Regions from separate parts of the Homo sapiens genome. Here region 2 is linked to region 1. Evidence: promoter capture Hi-C in human tissues and cell types (Jung and others, 2019). All regions are on one chromosome and are shown on one strand. Each heading gives the region's core, a stretch centred on a gene start or on the middle of the fragment in contact. The rest is flanking DNA. Distances are from core to core; before and after follow the strand shown.

Region 1 (5,479 bases), core at 2,132-4,631:
CTCTCTGCTGCCTGCTCGCCCCTCTCAATCTCTCCTTTGCTTTTTGCTTTAAGATCGCTCTTCTCTATTGCATGCAGGGAGTTTTCTTGAGCTGGGTAGCAGGCTGATTCCATTCATTTCTACAGTGCCTTGAATATCTTCAATCGCCCACAAAGACAATGTTTTATTCTACGAACACACCTTTTGCCAACATCTCACTGCTTTCTGTACAAAACAGCCTTTTTGTCGAACATTGAAGTGTCTACAATAATAACTATCAATAGGGAAGGAAACAAATTAACATCCAACGAATATAGGGAAATGTGGCCCTGATACAAGCACTTGGTTTTTGCTTCTAAAGAGGAACCCCTTCCCAGACTCACCTCATCGAGAGGGAGACAGAGAAGTCTATCAAGCTTAGCAAACATCTGTAGTCCAATTACTGTCAACAGTTTACAGGTGTTGAGAGCAAACAGTCACTTATACACTACCTCCCAAATGCATTCTCTTAATCTCTCTTAGAAACAAACGCACACATTTTTCTAGGGCTCTTTATCCAAAGTGCAGAGAGACTAGCTCCTCCTCCAGGCCAGCTGTGGTCTTCCCTGCACTGGGTGGACCAAAGGCAGGCCACAGTCCCACTGGCCAATGTGCCAAACACTGTGCCAGGGTTTCTCCAGCTACCCCAGGCAGAGGCCCAGGCTCCACCCCTGGAGGTCCAGGTTCTGGAAATCCAGGGTGGGGCATAGGAGAGAGCATTTTTCTGATGCTTCCAGCTGCTGCTCTGTTACGTGGGACATACTGTCTGTGGGACAGGCCGTGATTCTCAAATGCTAGTGGCATGAGCATGGACTGGAGAGATTGTTACAAGGTCAGCTTCCAGGCCCCACTTGCAAAAGCTCCAAGTCCATGGATTTCAGGTGGAGCCTAGGAACTGGCATTTTTCATGAGTTTCTCTGTGATTTTGTTGCAGATGATTGCAGACCAGAGGTGGGCGTGGCGGGGAATCCCATCAGCATTCAGAATCAATGTAGCAGGTCTGGGGTAAGGCCTGAGTTTCTGCATTTTTAACAAGCTCCTGGGGGATCTTGATGCTGCTGGTCTGGGGACCACACTCAGAGTGACAGGCTGAAGACCATTCTTTGGAGGCACTGCTTTGTATTTTAGGTCATATTTTTCTTTTCTGTCTCAGCAATCTTTGCTGCTGCATTCAGAGTAAGTCTGATAAACCAATGCTCTCTACTGGACTCCTGTCAGTTACTGCAGTGTTTCTGAAACTATGTATTTCGGAAAATGCGAGTTCCCGTAAGACATTACAGCTGTGTAAGAAGGTTTCTTTGAACAAAGTTGGGGCCATGCTGCGTGTGCCAGGGTCCCAGCTCTGGGTGAGAATGCTGGCACTGCAGCTTTCCCCGTGCCTGCCCTCTGCACCCTCCTCTGCCTGACTGTATAGTGGAGTTAGAAGGACTCCAAGAGCAACTTTACATAAAGCTCCTACACATGTCCCTGGCACATAGCTAGCACCTTGTAAGGACAGGCTATTGTCAAACTCTACCCTTTCTGGAAATCACGCTGCAGTAGACTCAAGATTCATTCAGTAGTAGAGGGAGATGTGCTTAACACAGTGTTTGGAGTTCAGGACCCACCTGCTCCTGGACCCCAGTCTCCCTGCCACACACTCATACCTTTTCTTTTTCAAATTGGCGCGCTCCTCAGCGCTTCAACAGTTTCGCAGAGCACGTTGGAGCAAATGCGGGGGTCTGTGATGCCTCTCCAAAGAAATAACTCGCATAATGCTCAGGCCTCCTGCAGACAAAGGTGTATCCCCAGCGACAGATATTTTAAGAAAATAGACCAGGGACACAAGACAAGAGAGCTGTCTTGGTGTCTAAAGCAGTCTTGGACAGCTTCTGATGTCGCTCGAGCAGTGGTGAAGCACCTTGAATAAGGAGGAAAGCAGAGGGGGCGTCTTCCCAAAGGACGGGCACATGGCCGAGGAATGGAATTCTCTGTCCATGAGGATTTTGGATGGATCTGTTCATGAAACCTCACTGGCTACGCAGGACCTTCGAGTGAGTCTAAACCTCCAGCCATGTCAACTGGTAACCTCTCCTTCTTCGGCTAGGTGGGGAGTGGGACAAGGCCATAACTGATAGGAGTCCAGGCTGGGGCAGATTTTGTGTCTCCTGACTAGTTCCATAGTTAAGTTGCAAAACCGAATCTCGCCTTGTGCTCTCGGATGTAGTGCTTACTCTGGTCCTCTGGGGTTATCTAAAATCTGGTTTCCTTAAGCGTAAGGCAGAGCTCTAACCGGGAGACCACCCTGCCCCCAAGGGTGGGGGTTCTGGGAGGGAGAGAGGGAAGCGGCTGCTCTGTAGCTTTCTCTACTGGCTTGCCCAAGTGGACTCTGATCTTGGAGCTCAACAGTGTCACTCAATCTTCCACCCTCTCCTTTGCAACCTATTTCTTAAACCAGAACTAATGTATTCTGGACACAGAGTCCCTGAAACCCCAGACAAAGAAAATTCGATGTATCTGAACAAACAAAACCGCGTTTCTTTAAATCTCCAAGCCAAAAGGAAAAGTGCAGAAACATTTACTCACTGTCCGACCTGTACATATATTTTACCTGATAACCCTTAAAGAAGTGCCCCCCAGTTCAGCCATCACCCATGCAGGGCAAAGGGAGCTGGAGCTGGCCCAGCCTGTCGGCGCAGACACTCCTGACAGCTCCTGTCTGGGCACTTCTTTCTTTCTTGGAGCTTCTAATTTCTTTCTTGGCTTCTGAGGCCTAACAGGGTGTTTTGATGCACACACAGGAATTACTACCGTCCCCAATCCTAGGGTACATCCCTAGCCCAGGCCAGGGCTTTGAGTTTTCCTAGGAGCGGGAGGGTCTGCAAAGCCCCACAGGCTGAAATCTCAGCGTGGCCCTCTGCTCATCTGCTCCAGGTGGAAACTCTCACCCCTGAGCTGCCCGACCTGGGTTCAAGCCCGGGTCAGGGGAGTTAGCAAGGAGACACCTGAAAAATAAAAGGACAGAATGGAAGTGCACACTCCCACCGCGGGCCCGGGCGGGAAGTCGGACTAAGACCGCGGCGGGACCGCCCCATCCAGAAAGGGTGCCCCGGGTGTGGGGGCGGAAACCCCAGCGCTGTCTTCAGTCTCCACACCCGCGCCTTTTTCCCCTGGAAAACGAGCGTCCTTGGCCTCTTCGGCCGCAACCGGGCGGCTCCAGACGTCCAGGAGGGCAGAGGCTGGGCTGGTGCGGCGCGGGGGGCGCGGGCGCGGGCTCTGCGCCTTTAAGGCCCGCGTCGGCAGAGCGAGCGCAGGGGCCGGGCGGCGGGGCGGGGCCTCGGCGGGGCGGCCGCGGCTTCACCTGCAGCTCCGAGCGCGCGGAACAGAGGCGCGGGCGGCTGCGAGGCCGGCGGACGCACCGGCCCGAGGGAACGCGCCGCCGGCCGGACTTGGCCTGGCTCCCGGAGCCGGGGCGGCGAGCGCGGCGGGCGCAGCGGGGCTGGAGGCTCCGGGCAGGCGCGGGGGAGCGGCGGCGGCGGCGGCGATCGGAGCGGCGGCGGTGGTCTCGGCGGCGGCGGCGGCGGCGGCGGCAGGGAGCGGGCTCCCGGTGCCGGGCACCGGGCGGGCGGCGGGGAAGATGACCGCGGGCGCCGGCGTGCTCCTTCTGCTGCTCTCGCTCTCCGGCGCGCTCCGGGTAAGTTGCCGCCTCCCGCCCCCGCCGTTCGGAAGCCCCGGGCAGCGGGAGGTCGTCCCCGGATCCCGCGGGGCGCTCACACACCCGGCGGGGCTCTCCCGGGCTCCCCCGCCGCGCTCCCCGCTGCATCCAGCCCGGCGCCCGCGCTCGGCGAAGCTGCCTGCGGTCGGCAGGAGCGGGAAGCCGCCTGGGCAGCGGGGAGCGGCGGAGCAGGGTGGGAGTGGGGCTCGGTGGAGGACCCGGGGAGCTCCGCCTGCACCGGACCCGCCGAGCCTCCCTCGAACGCCCAAAGCCCGTAGCCGCTACCCGGAGCTCGGCTTGCCTGCATGGGGCAGGCTTCCACTGGCGGAGCCGGCGCGCCCTCCATCGCCCGGGAGCCGCGCGCCGCGGGAGTTGCCGAGCCCAGCCCCGGCCGTGGCTGAAGGCGTGGGGCGCCCGGCGGCTGCGGGCCAGGGATCCGCGAGTGCGGGGCGCCTGCCCGACCTCTCCTGCCCAAGGCCTGGGGGTCCGTCTAGCGGCGCCGCTCAGTTCTGTGGGTGCCGGCAGGACCCGCGCTGCGGGTGGGCGGCGGGGTAGGACTGCGGGGCACTCTCACCCCCGAGCCCTCGGCGGGGCTGGAGCCTGCGTGTCCGGCGGGGCCCCGGGGGCTGGGAGCTGGGCCGGGCTTGGGCCGGGAAGCCGGACGCCGGGCGGGCGCGGCGCGGGAGGGCGCCCCGGGAGGGCGAGCGGGTCTCCCGCTGCCTCTGCAGAGCCCCGCGGGCCGGATTGCCAGCTTTGCTCTGCGCCTGGCGAGGTGCGCGGCCCGCGGGGGCAGAGAGCGCGGCGGCTCCGGGGGCGCCCCTGGGCGGAGGCGGAGGGGCGGCGGGAGTTGCAGGAACCCCCTCTCGTGGCCGATCGGCCTCGCTGCCTTCTCCCGGGCAGCGCTGTTGTAACCTCGGAAATAAACAAGTGCCAGCGGCGGGAGGCCCGCTCCGAGGCCGCGGGGCGCTGGGGGACGCGCTGGGCACACGCTTCGGGCGGGCGGAAACTTTCCTGGGCGAGTTGAGCCTCCCACCGGGCTGCGGGTGCGATTTGGAGCTTCGTGGCCGATGAAGAAAGCCGCGGTTTAGAGCTTTTCGTAAGGAATGACCCTGCGTCCCGCTCTCCTCCCTCGGTGCTGGGGGTAGAGGGGCGCCCTCCGCGGTGCCGGCGTCGGGAAGCCTGGAGCTCCGGGCTGGGGGCGGCCTCCGGAGTCGAAGCATGGGCGGGCGACGGCAGCGCGCGGAGCTGGAGGAGGCGGCGGGCGGGAGGCGCCACTGCCCGGTGCGGGCTGCACCCGAGGCTTCCTGCGCTCGCCGGGGAGCCAAGCACCGCTGTGCTCCTGCTCCTTCAGCGGGGCTGGCTTCCCGCTTGCACACACTGCCTCTCCCTCCACCACCTCCTCCTGCCTGTCACGCCCCCTCCCAGAAGCTTGGTCGGAGGGCCCTGTCGTCCACCCCATCCTTCCCTGGCCCTGTGCCATGGGCTCTAGACTTCCCCACTGAGCAGGAAAGGCGAGCGAGCTCCGGAGGACAGGAGGAGACCCCCTTTCCGGTCAGTTAGGGGAGCCGTCTCCCTGCCTGGGCTGGAGATGGGGGCTCCGAGGGTGAAAATGCGGGCTGAAGACTAGAAGGTGGAAGCGCCCCCACTGCCTCCTCACCCCAGCCACCGGCAGCCTCCCGCAGAGCTGCCTTCTTCGACCGGCTCCGGACCTAGTCCTAGAGAATCTTCTTCCTTTCTCTCCTCTTTCTCCTCCCTCCCGGTGACCTG
Region 2 (5,479 bases), core at 1,687-4,186, 620 kb after region 1:
AAGCAGGGACCACCCGCTGGGGTCTCGGGGTCTAGCCGCAGCTGCACTCGGGGTCTGGGGTGCTCTGACAGCCCCTCTCAGGACCTGAACACACACGCCTGCCTTGAAACCCACCCCTTCTGGGCCTGGCACCTCCAAGGAGACCCACCCCACCCAGGCTGCGGCGGCCTGGCTGTGACGAAGGGGGCATGGAGAAGCAGTGCTTTTCACACAGCCTGAAACCATCACAGCCAAATGAATGGGCTGCTGGTTGGTGCTGGGTTCCATGCGCTCCCACCTCCTGCACTGTCCTGCGGTCCTACGAGGCTTTTGTGACAGAGGCCTCCCTCCACCCCTTCATCTCAAGTGCCCGCCCCACTCAGAGACAGACCCCAGAGGGAGGCCCTGGGCGGTGGGTGAGGTCGGGGGCCTGCCTCTGCTCTGAAGCTTGTCAAGTGCAGGCGCATCTCCAGCACTGGGCTGTGCGTTCCCAGAAGATTCACCACCCGCCCCTGGGGCTGAAAGCGCCCCACCAGCAGCACCTTGAGTCCCCAGGTGCCCAGGACAGGGCATCGCCTGCCTTCCCCATCTCCAGGTCTCGCTGTCTGGTCTCCTGTTTGCACTGTGCCCACAGAGGCCAGTGTCATTCCAGACGTAATTTACCCTCTGAGGCATTTGGCTCCCAGGAGCCGGTAGAGCCACCTCGCTGGGCTCACAGCCAGTGCAGCCCTGCCCGCGGGAGGCTTGTTTCCAGAGGCCACAGCGCCACTTTCTGGCAGCTCCTCGGTCTTGCTGGCCTCAACCCTTCTGCTCCAAGTTGGCGGCTTCTGAGTGCGTCACGGCCCTCGAGCTCTGGGTGTGCGGGGACCCCACTGCAAGCTGGGGCTGCCAACCTGTCACCGGGGCTTGCTGGTGTCGCTTTTGGGGCCGGGACTGGCAAGGAAGTGGCAGGTCCTCCTTCCAGGTTTGGGGCTGTGGGACCCCCCGGGGCCTCCAGTTTCTGCCTCTTCTCCAAAAACCAAGACTCACCTGCAGTGCTGTCTTCATCCCCGCCTTTCAAATCAACCAAAGCCAAGCTGCAGCCTGGAAAATCCCACCCGTCTCTGTCCCTGGGAAGAGCACAAAGGGGATTTCCTGGAAATTCCTAAATCGTAAGGGGGTGGTGCCCAGGGTAACACATGGGGGCAGAGAGGCCAGTTGGGGGGTAACCCTTGGCAGCCATGCGGCTTGCGGGGAAGGCGAGGTGGCCGCCGGGTTCAGCACGGGCTCAGGACTCAGACCCGCACAGCAGAGGACGTTGTCAGCCCCAGCCGTGGCACCTTTCATCTGAGAGACAGAAGGATGATGACAGCCTTGGACTCCAAGGATCAGAGATGGAGTCGTGTGGCAGGCAGCGTGAGGGCTGGCACGGATGGCACAGGCGAGGACTTTTGATGCAGGATTTACATAAACGTTCTTAGAGTGATGTTGGCCAGAATGCCTGGGGCTCCGAGTGAGCTGTGGTCAGTCCCAGCACCTTCACCTCAGGACTGCAGGATCCGCTGAGGCCCCACCGCCCTCCAGTGGCCATGAACCAGCGCCCGCTCCGCTCAGACAAGGCTTTGCAGATGAGCTGCACCTGGCCCTGGTCCCGTCATTCAGCTAGGGAGATGATCCCATGGGCACATGGCCGAGTCAGGAGTGCTGTTAGTGAGGCCCATACAGATGTACAGGAACCAGATACCGTCCCCCATCTCCTCTGTAGCCTGGGGTCCCCCGCCTGCCCTGGGGAGAGAGGGCAGCCCCTGTTTGCGCTCCCCCAACACACACACACACACACACCTGTGAGCAGCTCGTTTCCACAGGCTGGCACCTCTCTGGGACGTTTGCACAGCTTTTGGCAGAGCAGGTGGTCTGACTGGAGCGTGTGCGTGCAAGCCCCTGTCCACACACTCCCACACACGTGATGCTCCAGAGGTACAGATGGGATGGCACGGCTGCCGGCTGTGTCCAAGGAGAGGACAGGACAGCCGAGCAAGGGTCAGGCCTGTGAGCGCCGGCACCTCTGGGATGGCCCCTTGCAGGGGCAGGGTCAGGGGTTACCTAGAGCCCACAGACTGCCCCACCTGCGTGCCATCAGCTCCTGGTGTGTGACGGGGAAAGCACAGGGGCCAAAAGGGCAGTGGGGATGCTTAGGGAGATCCGATGGGGCCTCGCCGTCCAGTCCCAGTGCAGGGGCATGGCTGGCTGCATGCTGGCCGCAGGAAACCGTTCTCTCCCTACTCTATATCGGCCGCGAGAGAGCAACGTCCAATTGGAGAGGCAGCTGGTTCTACTGAGCGACCGGAGAACTGGGAAGGGGAAGGTGTGGGAGTTTCACGGGATTGGGTGCCTGCAGGGGAGGCATGCAGGCGTGCGGAGGGTTCTAGACGTGCAGACGCAGTCCATGAACACATCTCTTCTTACATCTGGTGTACAACATGGCAGCAGTCTTCCCTTAGGGCCGGGGTTTTCGTATTATAATGATAAGCTGGGGATCTAAAGGGGACCATAGGCCACCTGCTCTGGCCTGCACTGGTTTCGTGTCGGTCCGCCCTCCCTCTGGTTTCCAGTGGGGTTGAGGGGGTCCCTGTGGCTTCAGGACCATCTGGTCTCCTTCAGCACGAATGTCTATAGATAAAGGGACTAAAGACAAACAGCTAAAGCTTTCCCACTGCCGGGTGGAGGGCTGGGAGGTCTGGGGTACTTTGTAGTTTATATTGTAGGAAAGAATATGTGATATTTTCCAGGCTGAAAATATATCTAGGCAACATCTGTGGACCCCTCTTCATAGCTGAAAATCTCACAAGGCCCCGGCAGTTAGTATGGGTGCAGGCTCTGACCTTGGGAGGGATCAAGAGCGCCACGGAGCCCACGACCCCCTGGGGTTCCCCCAGCTGGCCTGGTGCACCCTACGGGAGGGACACCCCCTGGCCTCCCTGGGCCAGGCATTCCTGTGGGCATGTCAAGGCCCGTGATAGGGACAGTGCCCAGCCTCCTGGGCTCAGCTCCCCCTGCCCCTACAGATCATGGCAGCTCGGCCAAGGGAGGGCTAGCAGTCCCAGCCACCCAGAGATCTCCCCACCCACTGGCCAGGCCCCAGTGAGGCTGACCCGGCAGCTGGACCCCCTGCCCAGGCCAGACACCGAGGCAAGGCGGGGCCAGCCTGCTCCCCAAGGCCCACAGCAGACACAGAGCGGTACCCACCCCCCACCCCCCACCCCCCGCTGTCGGCAGCTTCAGCGTGGCCTGCAAAATGTTCCACATAAAATGCTCATTTAAAAGCCATTAGAGGTGTGGTTGACAGACGGAGATTTATGAAGATTGAGGAACATGAGGAGACGCTGGTGTTGCGGGCGCTGGCGTTCTCCGCTGTGTGTGCCTGGGGATGTGAACAGCCCGGCTTCTATCCGACGGGAGGCCCCGTCTGGTGCATCTCAGGCGTGGTGTGCTGGAGAGGGCGGTCCCGTGTCTTCCTCTTCCAGGGCTCGTCGGGAACATAGGTTGTGTGGTTATTTTCCTTGATGATCCTTCAGCTGCTAACATTCGATTCCAGGAAGATCAGTTTCTGTCTTGTGCGTGTGAAACAAGCTGGTTGATGCAGTGAAACCTGGGACCCCCATGTGGACCAGCATCGTGGGGGGACAGCAGAGCCATGGTTCAGGGGCTCAGGGGACGGTCATGGGGCTGGACTTTGGGGCCATGACCCCCGGAACGTCCCTGGGGTCCATTGTGTGACAACGCGTCTTTGGCTGGGAGGACCCCCAGGCAGGGGATGAGGTGTAACCCAAATGAGGCCCGGCCCCAAGCAGACTGTGACAGGGTCATCACCAGGAACCACGGGGGCCCCAGAGGGAGGACTTCGTGGACACAGACGGGCGTGGTCATCCCAGAGAGGACAACAGGCCCTGGCCTGCGTGAGTGGCCAGGAGCTGAGCTGTAGGCCTGGGGCAGCTGGGGCAAAGCTAAGGCCCCATCGTGGCCATGGCGTCCTCATTTCCAGCCACGATCAAAACAAGACCTTCATGGGCAGCACGTGCCCGGCAGCAGGACCCCTCCCACCTTCTGTTCCCCCTGCCCCTTTCAAACCGAGCCCAAGCCTAGGAACATCCAGGTCCCTGAGCTGCTCCCTCCCCAGGTTCAATGCAGCCCCCGGCTGGAAGGTGGCTGTGGGTCTTGAATCTGAGACAGACCCAGGCGTGGCCTGCAGCTGGCTCCATTTGGGTACAGAGACAGTGTTGGGCGCCCTCAGGGCTTCTCGTGAGCAGAACCAAAGGTGTTCATGTCATTTCCACGTTATTTTCCTTGTGCAAACAAGTCTGTTTCCCCTTCTAAAGGCACCAGCTCGAGGGCTTCCATTAGGGAAGCTGCCTCCAGCACGCAGCAGCCATGTCCCAGGGCCCCCGCCTGGCCCCAGGTCTTCAGCAGCCCCTCCCAGTGGGGACATTGAGGCGGGCTTCCCTCCCCAGACATGGAGAGGTCATCCCCTTGGGCCAGTCTCTGCAGCAGTTTATGGCATAGTCTCAAAGTCGTAGGTGACCTCTGAATTTGTGACCCCTTGGCCGGAGGAGACGCAGGGCCCTGGCATTGGCCACCCCACTCTGCCCGCTCAGCCATTCCAGGTCCTGTCTCCCGCCTTGCACACAGTCTCTCCCACTTTTTCGCCTTTGCCTCGGAATAGAAGTCCTGGAAGCTGCCAAAGACTCGGCGGGGGTGTGCCGAGGCCAGGGCGCCCCTCGCCAGGGCTCTGCTTTCAGTGTGGGTCTGTGCTTAATGTTCAGAGCTGCCCTGCTCTTCCTTCGCCCACCTCCTGGGGAAATTGAATGATGGTTTATAATTATAACCGCTTCTGCAGCAGAGGATGCACGTTGTCGGATTTTCAGCAGCAAACAATAAAACAACAACAGGTTTTAAGACAACGGCTCCAGGACCACCGTTGCCAGGCATTAGTAAACCCACGCAGGCGGCCACTGACAGCAGTGTAGACGCCAAGCGAGCACCAGTTCAGCTCCCCCGGGACCCGGCCTTCACCCAGCAGAGCCACTGCCCCCCTGGGCCCAGGCCTGCTGAGCCCGAGAAGCTGATTTCTGTCTGGCTTGGCGTATCAGAGAAGAGCACACATCGGGACCATTTCTCCACCAGCCCAGCTTGCCTTGCATCGGCCGGACAGCTCAGCCACTTCTGAAAAGGACACATCGGTAGTTCCTTTTTCTCTTCCTCCCCCTTTAAAAAGATTCATCTCCCCTGCCCTTGGGCAACAAGCAGAGTCTTCGGGGGAAGCACCAGAGATACTTCTCAGCACCAGCCTCCATCTGACAGAGTGAGTCATCTTTAGGAAGAAGAAAATCCACAAACATCATTGCCGCCGTGTCTAATTAGGCAGAGCTATGTAAATTGAGCGCTTCTACTTGATTAAGATGTCAGGAGAGGCTTCGATAAGACCTGAGCGGTTCAAGTGTCTCTCGTGTACCAGCCGAAGATG

Evidence for each region. Contacts are between HindIII fragments. The study calls those that stand out against the background at their distance.
Region 2: a fragment that was not itself captured here is called in contact with the fragment with the promoter of CDH4 in region 1 in 1 of the 25 tissues and cell types used here (dorsolateral prefrontal cortex).

Annotation. Positions count from the first base shown.
Region 1 is chr20:61,248,880-61,254,358 of GRCh38, forward strand. CDH4 (cadherin 4) reads left to right here and starts at 3,382. Exons shown (of 16, transcript NM_001794.5): 1 at 3,382-3,691. The coding sequence starts at 3,635. The HindIII fragment of the contact is 10,940 bases long and covers 1-5,479 here.
Region 2 is chr20:61,874,158-61,879,636 of GRCh38, forward strand. All of the region lies in intron 7 of CDH4 (cadherin 4), which reads left to right. Among named protein-coding and RNA genes, the nearest start is that of MIR1257, 77 kb to the right of the region's middle. RefSeq lists enhancers at 4,453-4,953, 4,954-5,454. The HindIII fragment of the contact is 6,175 bases long and covers 1-5,479 here.